Regions from separate parts of the Homo sapiens genome. Here region 1 is linked to region 2. Evidence: promoter capture Hi-C in human tissues and cell types (Jung and others, 2019). All regions are on one chromosome and are shown on one strand. The core of a region is centred on a gene start or on the middle of the fragment in contact, and the rest is flanking DNA. Distances in the headings are between cores, read along the strand shown.

Evidence for each region. Contacts are between HindIII fragments. The study calls those that stand out against the background at their distance.
Region 1: a fragment that was not itself captured here is called in contact with the fragment with the promoter of TAF1 in region 2 in 1 of the 25 tissues and cell types used here (hippocampus).

What each region holds. Positions count from the first base shown.
Region 1 is chrX:71,036,426-71,042,426 of GRCh38, reverse strand. No RefSeq gene overlaps it. Among named protein-coding and RNA genes, the nearest start is that of SNX12, 29 kb to the left of the region's middle. The HindIII fragment of the contact is 4,398 bases long and covers 757-5,154 here.
Region 2 is chrX:71,361,851-71,367,899 of GRCh38, reverse strand. It overlaps TAF1 (TATA-box binding protein associated factor 1), which reads right to left and starts at 1,543. Exons shown (of 38, transcript NM_004606.5): 1 at 1,406-1,543; 2 at 287-401. The coding sequence starts at 1,525. RefSeq lists enhancers at 238-933, 1,452-1,501, 1,992-2,041, 2,210-2,779 and a silencer at 1,662-1,851. The HindIII fragment of the contact is 16,773 bases long and covers 1-6,049 here.

The DNA.
Region 1 (6,001 bases), core at 1,706-4,205, 330 kb after region 2:
TGCTTTTCTTTTAGAAAAAAAAATGTAATTTTCTGGCCACAAGGGCATAGTGCATTTCACCTAAATGTTGATGTAGTTTATAGTCAGACTCTTTCTCTTCTGCAAAAGATACTGTTAAGTAAACCAGGTTTTCTAAATAGTCATTCTTAAGAGTTTGGACTTATAAAATTAGTAGCAGAATTTTATTTAAAGGCCCTAGGTATTATATTTTTTTGTTTTTTTGTTTGTTTGTTTGTTTTTTAGATGGAGTCTTGCTCTGTTGCCCAGACTGGAGTGCGGTGGCACGATCTCAGCTCACTGCAACCTCTGCCTCCCAGGTTCAAGCGATTCTCCTGCCTCAGCCTCCCGAGTACCTGGGACTACAGGCGCTCGCCACCATGCCTGGCTAATTTTTTGTATTTTTAGTAGAGACGTGGTTTCACCGTGTTAGCCAGGATAGTCTTGACCTCCTGACCTCGTGATCCGCCTGCCTCAGCCTCCTAAAGTGCTGGGATTACAGGCGTGAGCCACTGCACCCAGCCAGGTATTAGTTTTTAAGTGAGCACTTTAACTTAAAACAGCTGCTGCAATATAGTCTTGCATATGATTTTTTAAAAAGTTGATGTGACCGGGTGCGGTGGCTCATGCCTGTAATCCCAGAACTTTGGGAGGCCAAAGCGGGCAGATCACCTGAGGTCAGGAGTTTGAGACCAGCCTGGCCAACATGGTGAAACCTCGTCTTTACTAAAAATACAAAAAATTAGCCGTGCGTGGTGGTGGGCGCCTGTAATCCCAGCTACTCGGGTGGCTGAGACAGGAGAATCACTTGAACCTGGGAGGCGGAGGTTGCAGTGAGCCGAGATTGCACCATTGCACTCCAGCCAGGGCAACAAGAGCGAAACTTGGTGTCAAAAAAAAAAAAAAGTTGATGTGCAGTCTAATTGTTGTTTCATAAAAGTTGGATCTTCTCCTGTGCCCATAATGATTTTGTGAATCATGAAGAAAATGCGACTAGAAGATGCCCAAACAAATCAGATAATAGTAACTACAATGGTTGCTGATGTTAGATTATTGTTAAACTGTAATTACTAATTTGGATGGCAGTATTTATCTCTTTTTTGTAAACACTCATAGCTAAATTGCTTAAGTATAATTTACAGAATTTCAGTGTAATTTACTCTCAATGGAAAATCTGAAACATAAATTGCAGATTTGAAAGGTACTGTACAACCATTATATCTGTAAATAACTACTTAACACCTCTTTGTCACTTAGAATACTACTTGAGTGTAATACTACTTGAATACTACTGTGAATGTAATACTACTTGAGTGAGCTCTTTTGGAAGTTACATCAAGTTCTAGTGTTTGCTTCTTAGTAACTGAACTGAATGTACAGTTCTGTCCTAGACATTTTGCACTAAAGTGGCTGAATCCATTCTTGTGTCTTTTTGTTAATGTGTTCTGTACCACTGGTGAGTGCTCCATAGTTTCCTTACCTGCTGCTACAGAACATTATTTTACATCCCTATGGCAATTGCCAAGGCTACAAAAAAAAAAAGCTTTATTTGTATGCCACACTAACTCTTTGACTGCTAATGCGTGTTTCTGCTTGCTGTGCCTTGTTATGGCTGCTTTTTTGTGCTAATAAAGTATGTTTGGTGTTCTCCTTGTATATCTACTGTTTTATACATTTGCAACAATTTCTTTTGTAAATGGAATGGTTTGGGGTTTTTTAAAATAAGCATTATCTAACAACCTACTATAGCTAATGTAGAATTACTGTACAGTCTCATATTGACTTATCAGAATAAGCTAACTCTAAGTTTAATGCTCTGCATCTTATCAATCATAATCACATATACTGTGGAGCAGTATCTGTAGTTACTGAAAATCATTGTACAGTTTAGATTATAACAAAAAACTGGCAGAAATAATAAATCTATTGATTTCTCTGCTTATGGGTGAAAGATCAAAACTATCAATGACATATTACAGTAAATGAGTATCTGTAACCTTCCACACATCAGAAGCAGATTAAATCAAGTCTTGTGAACTATTAATATATCAGTACCACTTATTGGTTTGGGGACCATCTTAATTGAAAATAAATGCCACAAATATAGAACTTTAACCAAAGACTTGTCCATTTTAAAGCAAGATGGGGATTGAAGTCACTTATAATTTCTGTTGCTTATAATTGAAGTCCCTGAAGAACATATATCAAAGTGTTTGAGAACTTCATTCAAACCTTTTTTTTTTTTTTTGAGACGGAGTCTCGATCTATCACCCTGGCTGGTAGTGCAGTGGTGTGATCTCGGCTCACTGCAACCTCTGCCTCCTGGTTTTAAGCGATTCTCCTGCCTCGGCCTTTGGAGTAGCTGAGATTACAGGTGGGCGCCACCATGCCTGGCTAATTTTTGTATTTTTAGTAGAGACGGGGTTTTACCATGTCGGCCAGGTTGGTCTCGAACTCCTGACCTTAGGTGATCTGCTCGCCTCTGCCTCCCAAAGTGCTGGGATTACAGGCGTGAGCCACCGCACTTGGCCCAAGCCTGCTTTTAAAGTTTTATATGCAATTAGATTGTTATGACCAAGATTGTGTTTTAGGGACGAAACTGGAAACTCCAAGAAAGCACTTGATATTTTTATATGCTTGTAGCAAATTGATGTTCTAACTGTAGATTTATAGAAAGTATTAATGCTTTTATGTATTTCAGAACTTTCATATGTTAAATGGAAATTATTTTAAATGTGTAACTATTTGAGTTTATGTAAGCATGTATACACTGTGCTAAAAGTCACTTGTGTTTCAATTTGTGTATAATATTAATATGCAACTTTTGGTTTAAATATTTTTCTTAAATTATTAGTGGCTTACCTTTTAAAAAAGAAAAATTACCAGCGTGAAATTGCAAAGAAAAAAAAAAGTCTTTGGACTTTCCCCGCTAGAAAAATGCACAAATGTACACAGAATTTTGCATAAATTTTAAACCTGGACATGCTCCCTGATGCCTATCCATAAGCTTCACATTAAATACTCCTAATCAGAAGTAATAAATCCTATAATAGGATTGCACTTGTTCATAATTCGACCATAGGCCATCAGGGAAGGCTTCATAGAAAAGATAGTTTTTGGTCTGAGATTTAAAGAATGAGTAGGAGTTTCCTGGATTTTCAAGGGCCGGGAAGGGCATTTTAGACTGAAGAGTCCAGTTAACTGAAAACCAATTAATACTGCAAGCCTTTTTGATCATCTGCCTTTTTGTTCACTCTGTCTTGAACCCCTTTGGGCTTCCTTCTGTTCTTCTACACTTTTCCTTACCCTCCATCATCCACCCACTATTGCCTCTCTTGCCAATTATTTGTACTATGTTTTCTGGAAAACTGGTACCATTGTAGACAGACTCTACTGTACCCTAAATTTCCTCACTGAATTCTCTCTCCACTTGCTTGCTTTAACTGAAACCCGGCTTCTCTCCCAGGGTGTGCCCTCTGTATTGCTATGGTTCTTGAGTGAAAGCCTCACATAACTGATTGAACAAATATCCCTACTGATGAATATTTAGGTTGTTTCCAGTTTTACAAACAATGCCACAGTGAAATGCTAATACATGTATGTTTGGGTACATGTGAATATATTTGTAGGATAGATTTGTGGATTTGAAACTGCTGAATCAAATGACACAAACATTAAAAAAATTGATAAATACTGCCAAATTTTTATCCAGAAAGTTTTTTCTAATGTACCTTCTTACCAAGCATACATGAATGCCTGTTTTCTTATACCTCACTGATACTGGAGAGTTATTAATCATTGTAATTTTTGTTTCCCAGAAGTCATCATCATTCCTACTCTTCATCACTGCTTCTAGACCTTTGCTTTCAACCCTCACATTAAAGGCCTCTCTTTTAAGGCTCATGCCTTTTGCAATATTACCTTTTATTCCTTCTCGATGTAGTCATTTATTGCCTTCTTGAATATTTCCTGATATTCTATGGAGACTTGAGCATCTGCTCTCTACCTCCCAGCCCATCACAATGCTCCTGTGGATGAACTGGCCAAGCAACACTCTACCTTCACAGCTCCTTGACCATTTCTAGTGCTCTTCTCCACTCTACTTCTGCAAGAAAATTTATTAGCCTCATTCTGGATTTTGTCATTTCCCAGAATTACTCTATATCTGAAAATATACAATTCCAATATCTCATTCTCTGTCCACAACTTTTTTTTTTTTTTTGACAGAGTCTCGCTCTGTCATCCAGGCTGGAGGGTAGTGGCACAATCTTGGCTCACTGCAACCTCCGCCTCCTGGGTTTAAGCGATTCTTCTGCCTTAGCCTCCCGTGTAGCTGGGACTACAGGTGTGTGCCACCATGCCCGGCTAATTTTTGTATTTTTAGTAGAGACGGGGTTTCACCATGTTGGCCAGGCTGGTCTCGAGCCCCTGACCTCAGGTGATCCCCCCCTATCAGCCTCCCAAAGTGCTGGGATTACAGGCCTGAGCCGCTGTGCCCGGCCCAAACTTTATTTTTGACATTTTTATTGTTTCACTACACATAGCACCAACTCATTTTATTTTATTTTATTTTATTTTACTTATTTTGAGATGGAGTCTTGCTCTGTAGCCCAGGCTGGAGTGCAGTAGCATGATCTCAGCTCACTGCAACCTCCGCCTCCCAGTTTCAAGCGATTCTTCCTCCTCAGTCTCCCAAGTAGCTGGGATTACAGGTGCCTGCCGCCACACCCAGCTAATTTTTTGTATTTTTAGTAGAGATGGGGTTTCACCATGTTGACCAGCCTGGTCTCGAACTCCCGACCTCAGGTGATCTGCCCGCTTCAGCCTCCCAAAGTGCTGGGATTACAGGTGTGAGCCACCTCGCCGGCCAACTCATTGATTTTAACAGGTGCATGGTGTTCCATTGTATACATGGACCATTATTTCATTTTGCCAGATTCACTGTACAGGCATTGTTCTAATGTTTGACTGTTGCAAATACTACTGCATTCTTTTTTGTGCATAGATTATATGTAAAACAATACTCTTTGTACATAAATCTTTGTGTGTCTCTGTGAGTATTACTGTGGGATAAATTTTTAGAAATGGATTGCTGTGTGAAATGATAAACATATTTACAATTTTAGTAGTATAGTCATATAGCCCTATAGAATCTACCAATTTACACTCCACTAACAGTATATAAAAATGTGTTTTCCCCATATACTTGCCAGAATTAGGTCGTTTTTCAATCTTTATCATTTATCAATCATTTTTTCATCCTTATCAACATGATAGGTGAAAAATATCTTGTTTAACTTATTTTTCTTTATTTCATGCTGTTTTTAATCCTTTTTTTCACTCAACAGTACGTTTTGGACATTTTTCTATGTCAATGAATATAGATTACACTATTGTTTTAAGTGGCTTTGTAAGGTGGGCACAGTGGTATGGTGCCTGTAGTCTCAGCTCTTTGGGAGGCTGAGGTGGAAAGATCGCTTGAGTCCAGGAGTTCAAGGCTGTAGTGCCCTATGGTCATGTCTGTGAATAGCCTGGACAACGTAGTGAGATCCCATTTCTTAAAAAATAAAAAAAGGCTGTATAGCATTTCATTGTGAGAATGTAATATTATTTTATTTTATTTATTTTCGAGACAGACTCTCATTACATCACCCAGGCTGGAATGCAGTGGCACGATCTCAGCTCACTGCAACCTCTGCTTCCCAGGTTCAAGCAATTCTTGTGCCTCAGCCTCCCAAGTAGTTGGGATTAAAGGGATGTGCCACCATGCTCAGCTAATTTTTGTATTTTTAGTAGAGATGGGATTTTGCCATGTTGGTCAGGCTGGTCTTGAACTCCTGGCTTCAAATGATCCACCTGCCTTGGCCTCCCAAAGTGCTGGGATTACAGGCATGAGCCACTGTACCTGGCCTTGCTCAGCATAATGTTTTTGAGATTTATCCATGTTATTGTGTGTATCAAGTTTGTTCCTTTTCAGTGCTGAGTAGCATTCTATTGTATGACT
Region 2 (6,049 bases), core at 294-2,793:
CAGGAGTTCAAGACCAGTCTGACCAATATGATGAAACCCTGTCTCTACTAAAAATACAAAAATTAGCCGGGCGTGGTGGTGCGTGCCTGTAGTCCCAGCTACTCAGGAGGCTGAGACAGGAGAAATGCTTGAACCCGGGTGGCGGAGGCTGCAGTCAGCCCAGATCGCCCCACTGCACTCCAACCTCGGAGACAGAGCGAAACTCCGTCTTACACACACAAAAAAGTACATACATAGTAGGTGGCTAGCCTCCTCCCCCGCCTACTCCCCACAACCCAGACTTCACCTTCATCATTTACCAAGGCACCGTCAGTCCCGGTCAATTCTTCATTTGCCGTGAGTTCAGTGATCAGGCTGCCCAGCCCCAAAGCCCCCAAGCCTGCCAAGTGCTTCTTACATTCCTGAAAAAGGGACAGCACGAGTCGAAGATAACAACTAAACCTACGACTCCCACACCACAGGACTTATTTCCCTGGTCCACGACAAAGTCACAAATCCACATGAAAAATGACTGTGCAGTGTGCCAAAACAAGCAACACGTTCGAGAACTGTAATATACATCTACCAAACTCCGCATCGATCAGATCTTTATTAAAGCACCACAGCCAACTGCATCGCCCACACTTTAAAGTATACTACAAGAGAAGACGAATCAAATAACTACTGCCAAGACTGAATGAATGGAACGGTCGTTCTCGGAACGAGGGCCGAGGCAGGGGGATCAGTGGGATTGGAGGCGTCGAGGCGGGGCTCGTTCGGTCCCTGTTTCGCATGCGCCTGCGGCACAGGAGGGGCCACAGCGGCCGACAGCTTCACTCCTCAAGAAAACGGGCCTAAGTGAAGGCAGGGTAGTTTCACTAGGGCGCAGGACACTATTTCACGAAAGTCAGTGAAGACGCTGGGAGAGCCACCTAAAAGGCGCACTGTGACCAGGAGGCCCGCTCGGGTGCTAGGAACACCCCATTGTCCTAAGCCTGAGGCCGGAACCAAACGAGCGGGAGGCAGGTCCTGTCCAGTCCTCTGGCTCTATAGAGCCATCTCAGGGCAGCGATGTCAGAGGGGCAGGCAGTGTCAAGAATCTCCAAGCAGGTTACGGGTGGGAAGCCATCTCAGTAGGCGAAACCAGCATGTGTCCTACTGTCTGGTCGGCAGAGCGCTAGCTCCAAAGCCACTATTCCCTGCGCCCCTGGCCCCGGGCTCGCCTCGCGCTCTCTTCTGCCCACTCTCCCCCAGAACGATCACTCCCACGCCACGTTGCTCCCGCACCCATGAGGACGGGATCCTCCTCCCCGGCGTTAGCTGCGCCCTGTTCTCGCTGCCTGAGCACCCTCTCCTTTCCTCCCCGCACCTCCTTCCTCTGCTTAGCCCCACCCCCCGAGCCCTACCCCCACGCCCACCCCCTCACATCATCCAAGACGCTTTCCCCCTCCAGCTGCCCGGCTCCATTGATGTTGCCGAAAAGGAAACCCGCTAAAGAAAATGGGCCGCCTCCAGCGGAATCTTCGTCGCTGTCCGTGTCTGACATGATGGCGGCAGCAGTGATGGTAGCTGCTGTCCGCAGCAGCAAATCGCAGCCGGGTCCCATAGACCGGAAATAAAACAACAGTCGCCCAGAAGTGACTTACTGAGCTCCCTTACCCTACCAGCCTCTACCGGAAGCTCAAAACAGAGGGGAAAGGGAGGGGGAAGTGGGGAGAGGGGAGGGGGAAGGGGGGGAAAACCCGGAAAGACCGGCTATCCTAAGAGAAAGAAGTAACTACTTTACTAACGGCTTTTGATTCGACGCTACGGGATCAGGAGGATGGATATGTGGAAAGCGGTTGGTCAAAGAAAATATTCAGTCCCGCCCGCTCCCACTGCTCCGCGCGCGAGCTTTCTCACGGCACCGAATTAGAGCAGTGGCTCTTCCTCCAATCAGAAGGAGCTGCTCGAGTCACGTGGCTTACGCGCAGGCAACCTCGGGTTCCTGTACCACAATACCCGGAAGTAAGGGTAAGAGCCGGTCTTTGTGCTGCGTGCAATTTCACCGGTCCGTCCCAAGGAGAGACTTGACGTAAATTATACAGGCATTCCCGAGCTATGCAGGTTACTTGTTTTGAGTTGACATTTTTCCCTAGAAATTGATTTTTTGACCGGACGCGGTGGCTTACGCCTGTAATTCCAGCACTTTGAGAGGCCGAGGTGGGAGGATCGCTTGAGCCCACGAGTATGAGGCCAGCCTGGACAAGAAAGCGAGACTCCATCCATACACAAAATCAAAAAAATTAGCCAGATGTGGTGGCCAGTGCCTGTAGTCCCAGCTGTTGGGGGGTCTGAGGTGGGAGCCAGGAGTTGGAGTCTGCAGTGACCTGTGATCGGGCCACTGCACTCCAGCCCGCCTCAAAAAAAATACTTGTTCCCCCAACGTTTTATTTCGGAAAATGTGAAAGTTTAGTAAAATGAACAGCTGACCCCTCACCTAGACTCACAATGGTTAACATTTTGCTAGGATTTTTGTTTTTCTAAACCATTTATGGGCATCTTGTTCTTCACTCCTAAAAATAAGCATCTTAACTATGGAACCAAAGTACCTTTATCACAACTTTAGGAAGTAAGTCAATATTATTTAAGGAAGAGTCCGCACTTAAATTTCCCCAGTTGTCCTAGTTGGAACATTTTACGGGGTTTCGTCATGTTGCACAGGCTGGTCTCAGACTCCTGGGCTCAAGCAATCTGCCCGTTTCAGCCTCCCAAAGTGCTGGGATTGCAGCCATGAGCCAACACCCCGGCTTTCACCTTGCTTTTTTCACATATTATGATAATATAGACTGAAATAATTTCTTTACCACATCATAGCACTCTTCCTCATTCTCCCTTTTTTCCAATACTAGGATCCATTCACGTTTCATGCATTGTATTTGGTCATCTTCCTTTAGTCCAGAATCACCTGCCTTCTTGTTTGTTTTTCATGACACTAAATATTTGGAAGAATCCAGGCAAGTTGTCTTGAAAACATTCCATGATCCGAATTTCTCTTGTTTCCTTTTTTTTTTTGAGACGTAGTCTCGCTCTGTTGCCCAGGGTGGAGTGCAGTGGTGCTATCTCGGCTCATTGCAAGCTCCACCTCCTGGGTTCACACCATTCTCCTGCTTCAGCCTCCCAAGTATCTGGGACTACAGGCGCCCGCCACCAAGCCCGGCTAATTTTTGTATTTTTGGTGGAGACGGGGTTTCACTGTGTTAGCCAGGATGGTCTTGATTTCCTGACCTCGTGATCCGCCCACCTCGGCCTCCCAAAATGCTGGGATTACAGGCGTGAGCCACCACACGCCCGGCCTTTTTTTTTTTTTCTTTTTTTGAGACGGAGTCTCTTGCTCTGTCTCCCAGGATAAAGTGCTGTGGTGCGATCTCGGCGCCACCACCCCTGGCTAATTTTTGTATGATTAGTAGAGCCGGGGTTTCACCATATTGGCCACACTGATCTCAAACTCCTGACCTCGTGATCCGCCCGCCTCAAGTGCTGGAAATTACAGGAGTGAGCCTCCGCGCCCGGCCCAGGTTAAATATTTTATCAGCCATCAGAAGGTACACTGTCAAATACAGTGTTGTCCTAGTATTGGTGATGCTAAATTTCATCACCTTGATAAAGTAGTCACCACCAGATTGCTCCATCACAAAGGTACAACCCTGTGTAATTACTAAGTAATCCACAGGTACTTAGAGATTGTGTGAATATTCTTTTTTTTTTTTCAGTCTTTTGGTACTGAGCCCATCCTTCTGCAGAATAAATTGTGAATATTCTTTTCCCCATTGACCTTGCACCCAATGTGGTTTTAGCATTCATTGATGTCCCTTGCCTAAATCAGTTATATTGGGAGAATGCGAAAGGATGATCTTTCTTTCTTTTTCTTATTTTTTTTTTGAGAAAGTCTCACTCTGTTGCCCAGGGTGGAGTGCACTGCCGACCTCCTTCTCCCGGGTTCAAGCGATTCTCCAGTCTCAGCCTCTTGAGTAGCTGGGACTATAGGAGCATACCACCACACCCGAATTTTTGTATTTTTAGTAGACACGGGGTTTCACCGTGTTAACCAGGCTGGTCTCAAACTCCTGACCTCAGGTGATCCACCCGCCTTGGCCTCCCAAAGTGCTGGGATTACAGGCGTGAGCCACCGCGCCCAGCTTGGAATGCTTTTTAATGTAGTTTATGATAGTTACGTAGCAGCGCGCACAGTGGCTCACGGCTGTAATCCCAGCACTTTGGGAGGCCGAGGCGGACAGATCACCTGAGGTCAGGAGTTTGAGACCAAGCTGGCCAACATGGTGAAACCGTATCTTTACTAAAAATACAAAAAAATTAGCCAACACGGTGGCGCACATCTGTAGCCCCAGCTACTTGGGAGGCTGAGGCTGGAGAATCGCTTGAACCCGGGAGGTGGAGGTTGCAGTGAGCCGAGATCGCGCTACTGTACTCCAGCCTGGGCAACAGAGCGAGACTCTGTCTCAAAAAAAAAAAAAAAAAAGTTATTTAGTACGATATTGTCTCTTGGATGCTTGTGCTTGAGGAAAAGCAGACTGAATAAAGGTAGAGGCTTGTAGGATGTGGAAGGAGACTTCAGGTCCTATAAATATAAAAGATAACTTTTTTTTTTTTGTAGAGACAGGGTCTCACTATTGTAGCCCAGGGTGGTCTTGAACTCCTGAGCCCAAGCAATCCTCCCGCCTTGGCCTCCCAAAGTGTTGGGATTACAGGTATGAGCCACCACACCTAACCTAAAGATACAATTCTTTTTTTTTTATCTCCCAGCCTGCTCCCAGCCGAAAGATACCATTCTTGATTCAAAACATGGTTTCATATATTCACATTGTTCGGTCCAAACAGTAAAATAAAAAGTTTTTAAAAAATAAAAATAGGCTGGGCACGGTGGCTCACTCCTGTAATCCCAGCACTTTGGGAGGTCCAGGCGGGCAGATCACCTGAAGTCAGGAGTTTGAGACCAGCCTAGCCAACATGGTGAAACCTCGTCTCTACTGAAAATACAAAAATTAGCCGGATGCGGTGGTGGGCGCCTGTAATCCCAGCGACTCGGGAGGCTGAGGCAAGAGAATCGCTTGAACCCAAGAGATGGAGGTTGGCAGTGAACTGAGATCGCACCACCACACTCCAGCCTGGGCAACAGAGCGAGACTCTGCCTCAAAAAAAGTTATTTAGTACAACATATTGTCTCTTGGATGCTTGTGCTTGAGAAAAAGCAGATTCAATGAGAGGTAGAGGCTTGTAGGATGTGGAAGGAGACTTCAGGTCCTATAAATATAAAAGATAACATAATATTCTTTTTTTTTTTTGGTAGAGACAGGGTCTCATTATGTAGCCCAGGGTGGGCTCCTGAGCTCAAGCAGTCCTCCCGCCTTGGCCTCCCAAAGTGTTGGGATTACAGGCATGAGCCACCACACCTAACCTAAAGATACCATTCTTGATTCAAAACATGGTTTTATATATTCACACTGTTCTGTCCAGAAAGTAAAATAAAAATTTTTTAAAAAATAAAAATAGGCTGGGCACGATGGCTCACTTCTGTAATCCCAGCACTTTGGGAGGCCCAGGTGGGCAGATCACCTGAAGTCAGGAGTTGGGACCAGCCTGGCCAACATGGTGAAACCCCATCTCTACTAAAAATAGAAAAATTAGCTGGATGCGGTGGCGGGCGCCTGTAATCCCAGCGACTCGGGAGGCTAAGGCAAGAGAATCGCGGTTGGCAGTGAACCGAGATCACGCCACTGCACTCCAGCCTGGGCAACAAAGCAAGACTCTATCTCAAAAAGAAATGTTTTTAAAAATAGGCCGGGCACAGTGGCTCACGCCTTTAATCCCAGCACTTTGGGAGGCCAAGGCAGGTGGATCACTGGAGGTCAGGAGTTCAAGACCAGCCTGACCAACATGGTGAAACCCCATCTCTACTAAAAATGCAAAAAAATTAGCTGGGCGTGGTGGCACATGCCTGTAATTCCAGTTACTTGGAAGGCTAGGGAAGGAGAATAGCTTGAACCCGGGAGGCAGAGGTTGCAGTGAGTGG